Linked DNA regions of Homo sapiens: region 1 is linked to region 2. The links are contacts of gene promoters, found by promoter capture Hi-C in blood cells and fetal thymus (Javierre and others, 2016). All regions are on one chromosome and are shown on one strand. The core of a region is centred on a gene start or on the middle of the fragment in contact, and the rest is flanking DNA. Distances in the headings are between cores, read along the strand shown. Region 1 overlaps LOC107985544 (a long non-coding RNA gene). Region 2 holds the start of DUSP18 (dual specificity phosphatase 18).

Region 1 (6,925 bases), core at 3,034-5,533, 240 kb before region 2:
CACTGCAACCTCTGCCTCCCAGGTTCAAGCGATTTTCTTTTTTTTGTTGTTTTTTCGAGACAGAGTCTCGCTCTGTTGCCCAGGCTGGAGTGCAGTGGTGCAATCTCGGCTCACTGCAAACTCCGCCTCCTGGGTGCATGCCATTCTCCCACCTCAGCCTCCTGAGTAGCTGGGACTACAGGTGCCCGCCACGATGCCCGGCTAATTTTGTTTTTGTATTTTTAGTAGAGAGGGGTTTCACTGTGTTAGCCAGGATGGTCTCGATCTCCTGACCTCGTGATCCACCCGCCTCGGCCTCCCAAAGTGCTGGGATTACAGGCGTGAGCCACTGCACCCGGCCCAACCTCAGCTTTCTTCGTTCTTTTTATTATTGCCCTATTTAATGAATATCTGATATTTGATCTTTATTTTCATTCTTGTCCTTTTCTTTCTTTTTTCTGTTTTTCTTTTTTTTTGAGACAGAGTCTTGCTCTGTCGCCCAGGCTGGAGTGCAGAGTCGCGATCTCGGCTCACTGCAAGCTCCGCCTCCCAGGTTCACGCCATTCTCCTGCCTCAGCCACCCGAGTAGCTGGGACTACAGGTGCCCACCAACACGCCCGGCTAATTTTTTGTATATTTTTTAGTAGAGACGGGGTTTCACCGTGTTTGCCAGGATAGTCTCGATCTCCTGACCTCGTGATCCGCCCACCTCGGCCTCCCAAAGTGCTGGGATTACAGGCGTGAGCCACCTCGCCCGGCCCATTCTTGTCCTTTTCTTGAGTTTTTTCTAATGTTCATTTTCTTACTCAAATTGGATGTTTAAAAATTTTTTAGTCTTTTACATGAGTCTTAAATGTTGTAAATTTTCCTCAAGGTACTGCTTTACCTGTATTCTGTATGTTTTAATATATAGTTTTTTTTAACTGTATTTTCTGATTTCTGTTGTTTTCTTCATTGACCTATGAGTTATTTCAAAATATATTTCTTAATGTTCTAGCCTGTATTTTCCTCCCAGTTTTATTTTTGTCATTGATTTTGAACTGTCTTCATTGCAGTCTGAGAATGTGGTCCTTTGAAATTTGCTGAGGCCTTATGACTGGATTAAATATATGGTTAATGTTCATAAAAGTTCCATGTGCATTTCAAAAATATGTATTCTGCAGTCACATTTAATTCCCTATATGTGTCCATGACATCAAGTTTGTTAATTACATAGTAATTAACATAATTTGTTGTCTGAGCTCTAATTACTGGGAGAAATAAATTACAATCTTCCATTATGATAGTGGATTTATCTTTATCCATTTTACTTTATACATTTTGAGATGTTATTAGGTGCATAAGAGTTTTAGAAATTTATGAGTTTTACCTTCTATCACTACAAAATGACCTTAAAATTCTAGTAGTTGACATCTAGTAATATTTTTTGCCCTAGAGTCTGTTTAGTTTATATATTTATGTTTTAGGTGTATTCTTGTAAATAGCATATAGCTGGATTTTATTTTTAGTCCATATTTTTTTCTTTGAAGCATTTAGATTACTTAAATTTTATGTAATTACTGATGTATTATTGATGTATTTGTATTCTCTTATTTGTGATTTTTATTCTACATTCTTTTTTCCTCTCCTCTCTTGCCTTCTTTAGATTTACTGAGCTTTTTCCCCCCTGCATTCAATGTGTTTCTTCTACTGCTTTGGAAATAATTTAGTATTGCTATTCCTTCAATGATTACCTGATAAGTTTTACATAATCTTAACTCATCATAGTCTCACTCCACATGACACTATATATTTTTTTTAAAAAAATTTAATATACTGTTTAATATGCTAAATAAAATTTAGTTATACACACATACACACACACACACACACACACACACACACACACATATATATAGAGAGAGAGATAGAGACAGAGACAGACAGAGACAGGATGATTGTGTAGCTCACTGCAGTCTCGAACTTCTAGGCTCAAGTTATCCTCCCTCCTCAGCCTCCCAAGTAGCTGGGACTACAGGCATATGCCACCATGCCTGGTTAATTATTTTATTTTTGTAGAGATGGAGTCTTGCTATATTGCCCAGGCTGTTCTCAAATTCCTGACCTCAAGTGATCATTCCACCTTGGCCTCCCCAAGTGTTGGGATTATAGGCATAAACCACCACACGTGACCTGTGGAAAAGATATTTTGACTGAGGAGAACACTAACATTTTCTTCTCTATTTTGGAGGTAATACTTCATTGTCTTCTGACTTCCTTTGGAGGCTCTCAGTCTAATCTGTTCTCGGTCTAATTGGCCTTCCTTTGGAGATGAATTTTCAGGATCTCACTCTGTTGCTTGGGCTGGAGTGCAGTGATGTGATCATAGCTCACTGCAGCCTCAAATTCTTGGGCTCAAGCAATCCTCCAGCCTCAGTCTCCTGGGAAGCTAGGACTACAGACACATACCACTTTGCCTAATTTAGTTTTTATTTTTATTTTTTTGTAGAGATGGGGTCTCTTCTGTTTTCCCATGATGGTCTCCAACTGCTGGTCTCAAGTGATCCTTCTGCCTCAGCCTCCCAAAGTGCTGGTATGACAGGTGTGAGCCACTGTACCCAGCCTAATTTATGCTGTTTGAAGGTAATTTAAAAAAATCTGCTTGTAAGATTTTGTTGTCTTAGTAATCTTGCAGTTTCACTATGTTGTATTTAGCTGTGGATATCTTTTTATTTACCATAATTAGGATTTGTTGAGCTTAACTTTGTATATTGGTGCTTTTCATGATTTCTTGAAAAACTTTTAGCCATAACTCTTCCAAGATTGCTTCTGTTCCATAAAAAATTCTTTTCTCCTTCTGAAATAGATCAGACATATGTGGGATCTTATCTTTCATGTCTTAACGTCCCTTTGATATTTTTCACCTCTTTGTGTCTCTGTGTTGTATTCCAAATTTCTTCAGATCTCACTTCTGCTTCACTAATACTCTCTTCAGCTGTGTAATCTGTTGTAAAACTATTCACTGAATTATTTTTAGTGATTTTAAAACATTTTCTTGAAATTTGTTTAGTATTTTTGAATATTTACTCTTCACTTATTTTCAAGCTGCCTTTCTGTTTCTAGAAATATATTAAACATGCTTATTTTCTCTTCTGTATCTGATAATTTTGCTGTGTGGAAGAGTTTTCTGTCTGATTCTGCTATCTGTTATTTCTGGTTGCCCTTGCTCATGGGTGCTTGTTTCCTTGTGTGTTTGGAGATTTTATACTGTGAGCTGCTCATTTTCCCTGCAGTTTCATATCTGAGGTTCTCTAAGGCCTAGAATGAAGGGGATATCTTCCAGAGAGGACTTGTTTGCTTCCCCCAGGTGACTGGGAACATTGCCAACTTCGGACCATGTTACGTTCTCTGTCAGAGGTTTCATTGAGCCATTCAGGTAGTGTGTATTTGGGCTGCAAAACTAACTGAGGGTCCACTCCTGATTACAAATTCTTAGGGGGATTTTGTTTTTCTCTGCTCAGGACCAACCTTTAAGACAAGTGATTTTTCTTGTATTTTATTTTGGATTCACCATTACATTGAAGGTATAGCCCTTGGGGGCCCCAAATTTCCTATTATATGCCCTACCTTTGGAGGCTCTTTTGAGGCAGTGAAAACTTACAGTTAAGCTCATTGGGCTTTGTAAATAATTGCAACATAAAATATTTCAGACCTTTTCTTACCTCTCCAGGTTTTCATACCCACTTAGTTTTTGGCTTGAGTATTCCTCATATTGTTTCCAGTTGATAGATGCATTTAACATTTAAAAAATTTTATCCAACCTGTCTAGTTTTCCACAAAGGAGTATTTTCTGGGAACCTAGTTTACCATATTGCCAGAAGAAGAAATCCTTCGACTGGCTGATGTAATGAATGATTTACCATGGAAAGCTTCACAACATTGAGCCATTTTCATTCTTGCATTTCTGCAGTAAACCTAATTTGGGCATGGGCTTACCAACTTGGGGTTCAGTCTTTTCTATGTGGCTAGATTCTATTTGCTGTTCTCTTGTTTGGATTTATGAAAATTCTTTTCTTCCATGAGACCGAACTATATATTCCCTTTATTTTCACACTGTCTTTATTAGGCTTTGTTGCTGAAGTTATGCATGCTGGCTAGCTTCATAAAAACAATAACTTAAATAGCATTGAGTTTGTCTCTTGTCCTGTTCTCTGTTCCACTTTGAAATGTGTCTCTCCGTTGTCCTCTCCTCCCAACTCCCTTCATGCTGAGCCATGTCCCTGGAGATGAGAGAACCTCAGGCCTTCTCTTCCCCACTTACAGAATCTGACTCCTACCCCACAGTCTGTCAGGAGCAGCAATTTGAACTCTAGAGTTTGGGGGAGGCAGGAGTTTCCTGGGTCCCTGGGCTCAGCTCTTCACCAGTTCCATTTCTGAGTCTCCTCCCAACTTGGTACTGCAGTCACGCCCCCCACTGCTCAGGTGTTGTCCCACTGAGCGTTTGCTTTAGCTGGTCTTCCTGGCCTGGTGTTGATTCTTTCGACAGCTATTCATTGAGCACTGACTATGTGCCAGGCAGTGGGATGCTACAACGTATAAGATCATGAAGCTCACAGTCTCATGAAGCTCAGTCCATTGGGGTAGGGAGGGCAGACCATCAACAAATACACTGCATGGCAGCCAGATGGTGATCAGAGAGCAGTGGAGAAAAAGGAAGCTTTGTGTCCCCAGGAGGCTTCCAGCTTGTTTGGGCATCTGCAGGTCAAGTCCACATAGTCCCCTCATCGTCCCCTGAGTTCTTGCTGGAGTGCAGTGGTGCGATCTCCACTCACTGCAGCCTCCGCCTCCCAGGTTCAAGCGATTCTCTGCCTCAGCCTCCCAACTAGCTGGGATTACAGGTGTGCGCCACCATACCCTGCTAATTTTTGTATTCTTAGTAGAGACGGGGTTTTGCCATGTTGGCCAGGCTGGTCTCAAACTCCTGGCCTCAAGTGATCTGTCCGCCTTGGCCTCCTAAAGTGCTGGGATAACAGGCGTGAGCCACTGCACCTGGCCCTATTTTTTTTTTTTTTAATTATTCTCTCATATAAATGTCACAATCAACTTGTCAAGCTTTTGAACTATATTGGTAGGATTTTAATAGGGATCATGTTGAATTTGTAGGTTTGGGACTAACATAACTGAATGTGAACCTAGCTATGAAGATGTATTTTCCCTCTTAACTCAGGTCCTCTCTGTCATGTCCATAAAGGTCTTTCACCTTGTGGTTTTGTGTCTTTTTGTCAGATGGCCTATGTCGTAGATCTTTTTTTCTATTACATTTTCTATTCAGTGATGGCTGGTGTATGTGAGACCACTGAGTGTAGGTTGATCTTGTGTCCTGCTGGTCAGAGTGGTCTTTCTAAAACATTGCCCTGATGTCAATTTCTGTTCAAGCTCTTCAGAGCCCTCTCTTTGCCTCAGTAGACTGGCCTTTGTCCCCTCCCTTGCCCTCTGGGTCAGGTGCATCCTGAAGTTCCGCCTCACCTCTATTCCAGTGAGACCTGCCCCACCAGCTCCTCAGCCGGGACCCCCCGCCAGCGGCCACCTCCCCACAGATGGGGAAGCCTAGCCAGGGAAGGAGCTGTGCAGGGCCAGCCCCAGATCCCACAGGGCTGGGGTTGGAGGCAGATGGTGAGAGCGCTGGCCCTGATGCCCCTGGGGTGCCCTGCTCTACCCATCCCTCACCTGGAAGTGCAGCCCAGGCTGCTGCTGTCAAGTGATATGGAACTCACCAGGACTGGCCTTCCCCCTGGAGGCCTCCCACTAGACAGCTCCAGGAACTGAAACACGGGAGGGGGCTGCTGGTGGTCTCCACCTGGCTAAAGCACTGCCCTTCCAAAGAGCAGAGCTAGGTCCAGGCCAGCCCTGTGGCCGCAGCATCAGGGCAGCCTTTGGCAGAGCTGCGACCCTCTCCCCAGCCCTTTGGGCAGTTTCCTGGGTCTCCTACCTCCTCTGTTCCCCTGACCCCCCTGCTGTTTCACCCCATGCTCTACCCCCATGCCACCTTGTAGGCTATCACCTGTCCTTCTACATTAGTCCCCTCCACCCAGATACACAGAGACTGAGGGACAGGGCAGTGGAAAACTCCAAAGCCAAGGTTTTTTATTACTGGTCAAAAGGTGCTCGCTAACAAAACAGTGTTGGGGAGAGGTACATTCCACAGCTCTGTAGGAGCCCCAGTGGGGCCATCCTGCCCCACCCCGCCCCGCCTCTCCAGTGGGCATTGTAAGGCATTTCACACATTGGTGTTTTCACTTTTTTTTTTTATATATATAAAAACAAAACCAGTCCTGGAGTAGAAAGAAAGACCCTGTGATGAACTTTTAGGACTAAACTGAAATGGAAAGGATTGGAGTGTGGGATTCTGAGGGGCTGGGTCAGTGGCCATGGTGGTCCAGCCCCCCATGGTTGGCAGAAGCCGCTGGAAGGGGGCATGAGGAGAGGGAAGGGCACAGCTCACATGAGGGCCAAACTCAGACAGGTGCACCCGTCTTCATCATTTTTTCACTTTTACATACTGTAGAAATTTAAGCAAAATAGCTATTTTATATATATTTATATATCTCATATATATATATATAAATTAGGCAAATAAAGAGTTCAGGGGACACTGAGATGGGGCACCCCTAGGGGCCTCCTAGGATGAGGAGGGATGCAAGGTCTCTGGTGCCCAGGTCACCAGCCCAGGCTGGGCCAAGGGTTTGTTCATTATTGCTGATTTGGGGCCTGGGTCTCAGGGCGGGGAGCACCTGCAGGCCCTGCCTTCCAGCCCTTCCTGGCCTCTTGGGGCTAGGGAGCCACCCAGGCTGGCTAGGGTGAGGCCAGGGACTGCTGCCCTCAAATCCACATGGGGGTTACCATCAGTACCCCCTCCTGCATCTGTGGATGGGAGCTCCAGAAACTCTGTGCTCTGCTGGGCTGGGGC
Region 2 (7,148 bases), core at 4,589-7,088:
TGAACCCAGGAGGCAGAGGCTGCAGTGAGTTGAGATCACGCTGCTGCACTCCAACCCGGGTGACAGGGAGACTTTGTCTCAAAAAAAAATAAATAAAAAATAAAAAAATAAAAAAAAGTAAAAGGAAGCTTCTGGACAGCTGAAAGTTGGCACAGCCCTCAGGTATACATAAAGCCAACTCAGGAGCTTCCAGTTAAGAGTAGTTCACAGTTCCTTGCCCCACCTAAGGTGTACGACATTCCCCACCCAGTTGGCCCCGAACCTATCGTGGGCCACTCAGAATACCCCACACCACCTGGCCACAGTGATTAAAACAGGGATGGGCCCATGAACCAACTGGGGCCAACTGGAGTCCTTCCTCAGGATTTGTCTAACTGGAGCAGCAGTGGAAGTACTTCTTGTGGTCTACAGGCCAAGGTTTCCTGTGGCTCTGCTCCCCAGGTTCAGCCAGCCTGATAATGATACTGGTGTTCAGAAAGCCACAAAGGGCTGGGCACGGTGGCATATGCCTGTAATCCCAGCACTTTGGGAAGCAGAGGAGGGCAGATCACTTGAGCCCAGGAGTTTGAGACCAGCCTGGGCAATGTGGTGAAACCTCATCTCTACTAAAAATTCAAAAAATTAGCCAGGCATGGTGGCATATGCCTGTAATCCCAGCTACCTGGGAGGCTGAGGTGGGAGGACTGCTTGAACCCAAGAGGTTGAAGCTACAGTGAGCCTCATGCTACTGGCCTCCAGCCTGGGCAAGAGTGAGACCGTGTCTCAAACAGACGAGACGGGATGGGACGGGACGAGACGAGACACAATATAAAGACAATGAAGACAGAATGGAAGACATACCTGGTGGTAGTACAGCCCCTGGCTTCTCTCCCCTAAAACATTGGCGACTGTGCCCTATCCATCCTTGATTATGTAAACCCAACTTCTCTATTTTGCTTGAACTAGTTCAAGTTCAGTTTATATTACCTGCCACTGAGAGGATCTTAATAGATCCTATTTTTACAAATGAGAAAGCAGAGTCTGGAGGAAGTGTGATTCACCCAAGGTCACACAAAGCTGGCCTGCCCATCTAGTTCCACTACATCCCACCATTGGAAGTTTAGCAGAGGCAGAAATGCCCAGGTCTCTGCTCTGCTTTTGTCTTTGTGACCTTCAAGAGGATCTGGCACCATCTCTTAAGGATCTCCAACTGTTTTTGATGTTAGAATCCTGTGGGCCCATCCAGACTTGACCCTGGAACATGGAGAGAAGTCAACAGAGTCAAGAAGGGGCAGAAGCTCAACCCTGGGCTTCCTGCTCTGTTTGAAAAAATGAGTATGTTATTGGTGTCCATCTTTTTCATGTGTCTCTTCCTAGCACCCAACACAGTAGCTGTCCCAAGCAGGCCCTAAGGACAGGTTTAATGAGTTCATCAATTAGGGTCTATGGGAACAGTAGGTGACAGCACTCAGGCTTTTGAGTAAGCCTGAGTCAAACTCTTACCTGTCCATAAGCAAAAAGTGGGAGAAGAGCCTCAGTTCTCATCTGGAAAATGGGGATAATCCCCAAAGGAAAAAACTGACAAGATGCTGTTAATGCTGATTCAAACTCTAGGACCCAAGACCTTAGTTTTTTGGGGGTTTTATTTATTTATTTTTGCTTGTTTGTTTTTTTGTTTTTGTTTTTTTTTTTGAGACGGAGTCTTGCTCTGTTGCCCAGGCTGGAGTACTATCACAGCTCACTGCAACCTTCACCACCCGGTTCAAGCAATGCTCATGTCTCAGCCTCTCATGTAGCTGGTATTACAGGCACCCACCACCATGCCCAGATCAGTTTTGTATTTTTAGTAGAGACGGGGCTTCGCCACATTGACTAGGCTGATTTCAAACTCCTAACCTCAAGTGACCGTCCTGCCTCCCACAAAGTGCTGGGATTACAGGCATGAGCCACCGCGCCCAGCCTAGAACCCAAGACTTTGTATGGGAGAAAATAAGAATCCATTCATGGGTTCCCTAGAGAGATAATGTGCTTTCAGGAAAAACAAAAACAAAAACAAAACCAAGAGACATGGAGTCTTTCTAGCCTCCTTAGCCTAGGAACAGGTGTGACACCTTGGGCAAGTCAGTAACCCTGAGTGTGAATTGCCTCCTCTGTAAAACGGGGCCTGCCTTAGAGCACCTTGGGGACTTCCTATCACCTTTATGATCCCCCAGGATATAGAGAGAATGAAATGAATATGGGTCAAGCCACTAACACCCTCTAATGCAAAAGCTTGTGGCTACTTTACCTGCACCTCATGGAGTCGTTGTGCTATGAGCTTGTCATAAAAACCCACCCAAGATAAACTGCTCTTTTTATATGAGTAAAAAATTTTTCACTGCTGCTTCACTGGAATCATTAAGCTGGAGCGGGGAGGGAAAGGTGACACAGGTTACAGATGGCTGAGGCCAGGGCCAGAGCAGATTTGACAGGGTCCTGGGGGAGTGGCTGAGGCTTCCCCGGGTATCTTAGGACAAGTGCAGCTCTGTTACAATTTTCAGAGAAGCAAGGGAGTAACCACAGTTTCTTCTTGTGGAAAGATATGCTAAAGGGGTGTTTCATGGACACCCAGAAGAAAAGCAATTCTGTGTTTGTAAAAGGGCCCCAGTGCAGTCCACAAGAGAAGGGTTATCAGGAACTCAGAACCATCTTCCAAAGCAGTCTTTTGTTTTTTTGAGATGGAGTTTCATTCTGTCTCCCAGGCTGGAATGCAGTGGCACAATCTCGGCTCACTGCAACCTCCACCTCCCGGGTTCAAGCGATTCTCCTGCCTCAGCCTCCCGAGCAGCTAGGATTACAGGCATGCGCCACCACACCTGGCTAATTTTTGTATTTTTAGTAGAGACGGGGTTTCACCATGTTGGCCAGGCTAGTCTCGAACTCCTGACCTCAAGAGATATGCCTGCCTTGGGCTCCCAAAGTGGTAGGATTACATGCGTGAGAGCCACCATGCCCACCCAGCCAAAAGCAGTCATCTTGATGATCCTTCTTAAGGATGAAATGGGAGAGAGGGGTCTTAGAGGGGAGGAGTAAAAGTTGTAGAGTAGGGTTCGAAGGATGAATTTGAGAGGTGTTTAGCTTGGGGAGCACTTGCTCTAGACCCTGTGCCTAAAGGGGATCTGGGAGGCGGGGGCTTGGGGGAGTATAGATCAGAGCAGGGAGAAATAAAAGTAAGAGTTTGGACAGATGTTAGGCTGGTTAATAGGGGAATTCCAGAAGAAGGTTTGGGGAAAATTTAGAATAGGGAGGTGTGGGGTGGACAGGGGTTTTAGGAGACTCTGAAAGGTGAGGTGAAACATGGGGTGGGGTGGGGTAGAATGGAGCTAGGTACTCCAGGTGAAAATATAACAATCTGGTCAAAATGAGGAAATGCTGAAGAGTGGATATACTTCTAAGCACTGCATTTTCACTTTTTGATAATTTGGTTACACCATGAAGTAGTCTTACAAATAAATACCTTTAAATGGTTTTGCCCATTTAAAAATAATTCTTCAGGATCAGGCACAGTGGCTGAGGCCTATAATCCCAGCACTTTGGGAGGCCAAGGTGGGCAGATCACTTGAGGTCAGGAGTTCGAGACCAGCCTGGCCAACATGGTGAAACCCCATCTCTACTAAAAATACAAAAATTAGCCGGGTGTAGTGGTGAGCACCTGTAATCCCAGCTAATCAGGAGGCTAAGGCAGGAGAATCACTGGAACCCAGGAGGCAGAGGTTGCAGTGAGCCAAGACTGTGCCACTGCACTCGGGCCTGGGCCACAGAGCTAGACTCTGTCTCAAAAAAAAAATTGTTCATATTTTCTTTCTAAAATGCGGAAACAAAATCTACAGTATGGAAGCAATTGAATAAATTTTGGTATGTCATAAAATAAAATACATGTAATTGTGTATGAAACATAGACGGGTGGTATATTAGATGGGAGAAAAAAGCAGGTTACTAAAAAGTGAACTTTTGTGATGTATCTTTTTTAAGTATAAGCATGTTGTAACATATATATATATATATATATATATATATATGAATGGATTCTGATCAAAATACACCAAAATGTTAACAGTGATTGTCCCTAGCCACTTATGCTGCTGGCCTGTCTTGTCTTCTTTTTATTTCTTCGAGACGGGGTCTCACTCTGTCCCCCAGGTTGGAGAGTAGTGGCACAATCTCAGCTCACTGCAACCTCCACATCCCAGGCTCAAGTGATCCTCCCACCTCAGCCTCCTGAGTAACTGGGACCACAGGTGAGCCACCAAGCCCGGCTAATTTTTTGTATTTTTGGTAGAGATGGGGTTTCACCCTGTTGCCCAGGCTGGTCTCGAACTCCTGAGCTCAGGTGATCCAACTGCCTCAGCGTTTCAAAGTGAAGTGGTGGGAATACAAGCGTGAGCCACCATGCCTGTCCTCATTTTTCTATAAGTGTACACTACTTTTATAATTGGGTCAAAAAAGACAACTGTAGAAGGATAAAAAATATTGAAGGACTAGTTTTTCTAATGCATTTTCAGCCTATTTGGAACTGGAGTGTTGTGAATGTTTTCATATTTACAAACTAGTATGAACAATCCAACTTCTCAATCTCTCATTTACATTTTTCTGACCTCTATGCATAGCCTAGGTGTGAGGTGATGGAAAAAGCTGGTTTAGAGATCAAGATGCTCAAACACAAAAGTCCCCCAAATCCTGAGAGTTTTTTGTTTTTTTAAAAAAATCCTTAAAACATTTAAAGACGCATAAAACTCTTCACCCACTCAGTGGTGCAAAAAATTTACCAATACTAGAAGGGGAGGAGGCTGGCAACGACTGGAAATATTCCCTTTCAAGTAATAAATAATGGTTATTTTGAACCAAATTGCTTTCCACCTCAAGTCCTCCATGGATGGGAGCCTGGAGGATGCAGTGATGGGGGTTATGGAATGGAAAGGAGCGTGGGTAATTGGGTTTGTGAGGATTGGGGCCAGGCAGAGGGAACTGGGGGCTTTTCCAGGACCACTGGGGAACACAGAGGCTGAGAAGGGGAGTGTGGGATGGGTTCGAGCTGGGGAGGACCTCGGCCTCGCCAGGCTCTAAGGAGAGTCACAGCTCACCACCTAGGGCGCTGGGACCACACGATGTCATGCCTGGGAGACTGAAGGGCTAGGACAGATTCTGAGAAAATGTGGACTGGAGATGGGGATTCCAGGTTCTCCCGGGAGTCCAGGCGAGGGAGTTCCGGCTTCAGGGAGTCCCAAGAGCTAGACTGGGAAGGGGCTGGTGCCCAGGACTATGAGAAATCCAGACTCCCCTGGGGTGTGAAAAAGGGCCGAGGTCCGGCTGAGGGAGAGCGAGTCTGAAAGAGTTCGGGCTCCCTTGCGGGTCCGAGAGTCTAACGAAGGCTCTGGGCACCCAGGCCGCACCTGAAGAGCACCAACGACTGCTCGGTCCGCGGCGCGGGAAGGAGATGTGCGGCTGAACCCCTACGCCGATTACTTAGCGGCGGCCCTATCGAGAGGGTGGTTCGAGCCCGAGGTGGCGCCGGTCCCGTAAATCGTGGAGGATCTCAGGTCCCCTGTGACCAAGGGCGTAGTCAGCTGTGTCATGGCGGCTTCCCTGTTCGAGAAACAGTTGGAAACTGGAGGCCGGTTGGGAGTCATGGTCGTTGGGCGCACGGAGGCCGGTTGGAAGCCATGGTCGTTGGGCGCCAGGAGGCCGGTTGAGAGCCGTGCTCGTTGGACGCGCGCAGACCTGGAGTTAGTCCCTGGGCGGAACCTGGAGCCCCGCGCGGCGCGTTGCCTGGGAGACGCATAAGGGGGCGGGGCCGGGGAGGGAGTGTCGCACATGCGCACAGAGCCCGGGCGGCTACGGAAGCGGTGAGACTGTCTCTCGGCTGCAGCCCTGGTGCGACCCGGCCCGTTGCCGTAGAGATGGGCAGGGCTGGATGGAGTGGGGTGCGGTGAGCTGAGCTGACCCTGCTTCGCCACGGGGACTGCAGTGACCCCGGCTTGCCGGCAGGGCGGGTAACAGGTTGAGCCAGGGTGGGGCTGCTCAGGGGCGTGGAGCCGAGGCCAGGATTTCTCTGAAGACCCGGCACAGGCTATTCCTTTCTGCGACGAGCCCATTGCTATGGAAACCAAAGCGTTAGGCCAGCGGGGATTGAGGCTGCGGGATCATGACGGGTCTCTCTCCCGAAGAACCTTGCCTAAGGCTTCCCCAAGCGGCTACTTCCTGAGCGAACCCGCCCACCCGCCTGAAGGAGAGAGGTAAAACCCTGGGGGTCCTGACACTAAGCAGGCGAAGAAGCCTATTCCAATGCCAGCTCCCCTAGGAAACCTACCCGGCCCACCCCTAGAAGTGATGCTTCGCTCTCGTTAACTCTTGGACTTTGTTCCATGTTTATAACTTAGTATTTCACGAACGCCCCGCGGTGTTTGTTCATTTTTCCCACACATAATGGACCATAAAGGTCGGCTTCTTTGCTTTATGACTCGTTCTGAACAAGTCCTTTTCCGCGCTGTGTCTCACTTTCCTCTTTTGTAAAATGGAAATATTAACTCTAGACGCCGGTCTGATTAGGTTGCTTTGAAGATCGAACCAGATGAGGGAAGCCAAATACTTCATAGGCTGTAAAGTGGTGAAGCTGAACTGCTACCGAGTTGCTATTTTTTTCTCCTCCTCCCTCTCAAGCTAAACGTTCTTTAGATCTTTTGTGATTTCTTCAGGTGGTCTTTGCGACTCCCTAGGCTCCGACCTGGAAGAAATCTTTTTTACACTTCCCTTTCACAGAGCCCTGCATTTTAACTTCCCTATCAGAAGCGAGAAAAATAGTTATCATTTTGAGAGGGCTTACTCTATGCCAAGCCCTGAGAAAACTCTTTACGTGGATTATCTCGTTTAATTTCACAACATCCTTTTAAGGTAGGTACTGTTATCCTATTTTCAAGCTCTGTCTGCCTGTAATTGCCTGTTTACTATCTGTTTCTCCCACTAGTCTTTGAGCTCCCTGAGAAAAGGGGCCATGCCTGTCTTGTACATTTCAGTATCTCCAACACCTAATACAGTGCCTGATAGAGATTGCTTTTTTTTTTTTTTTTTTTTTTTTTGAGATGGAGTCTCACGCTGTCTCCCAGGCTGGAGTGCAGTGGCACGATCTTGGCTCA

The links. Contacts are between HindIII fragments. The CHiCAGO score rates a contact against its expected background, and 5 or more counts as called.
Region 1: a contact is called between a fragment that was not itself captured here and the fragment with the promoter of DUSP18 in region 2, in 1 of 17 cell types (endothelial precursors). The highest score is 8.0, in endothelial precursors.

What each region holds. Positions count from the first base shown.
Region 1 is chr22:30,906,974-30,913,898 of GRCh38, reverse strand. It overlaps LOC107985544 (a long non-coding RNA gene), which reads left to right. Exons shown (of 3, transcript NR_146603.1): 2 at 2,468-2,601. It overlaps OSBP2 (oxysterol binding protein 2), which reads right to left. Exons shown (of 14, transcript NM_030758.4): 14 at 6,086-6,925. Among named protein-coding and RNA genes, the nearest start is that of MORC2-AS1, 12 kb to the left of the region's middle. The HindIII fragment of the contact is 788 bases long and covers 3,890-4,677 here.
Region 2 is chr22:30,666,565-30,673,712 of GRCh38, reverse strand. It overlaps DUSP18 (dual specificity phosphatase 18), which reads left to right and starts at 5,838. Exons shown (of 2, transcript NM_152511.5): 1 at 5,838-6,251. It also overlaps a transcript of SLC35E4 not described here. RefSeq lists an enhancer at 5,351-5,740. The HindIII fragment of the contact is 6,661 bases long and covers 2,253-7,148 here.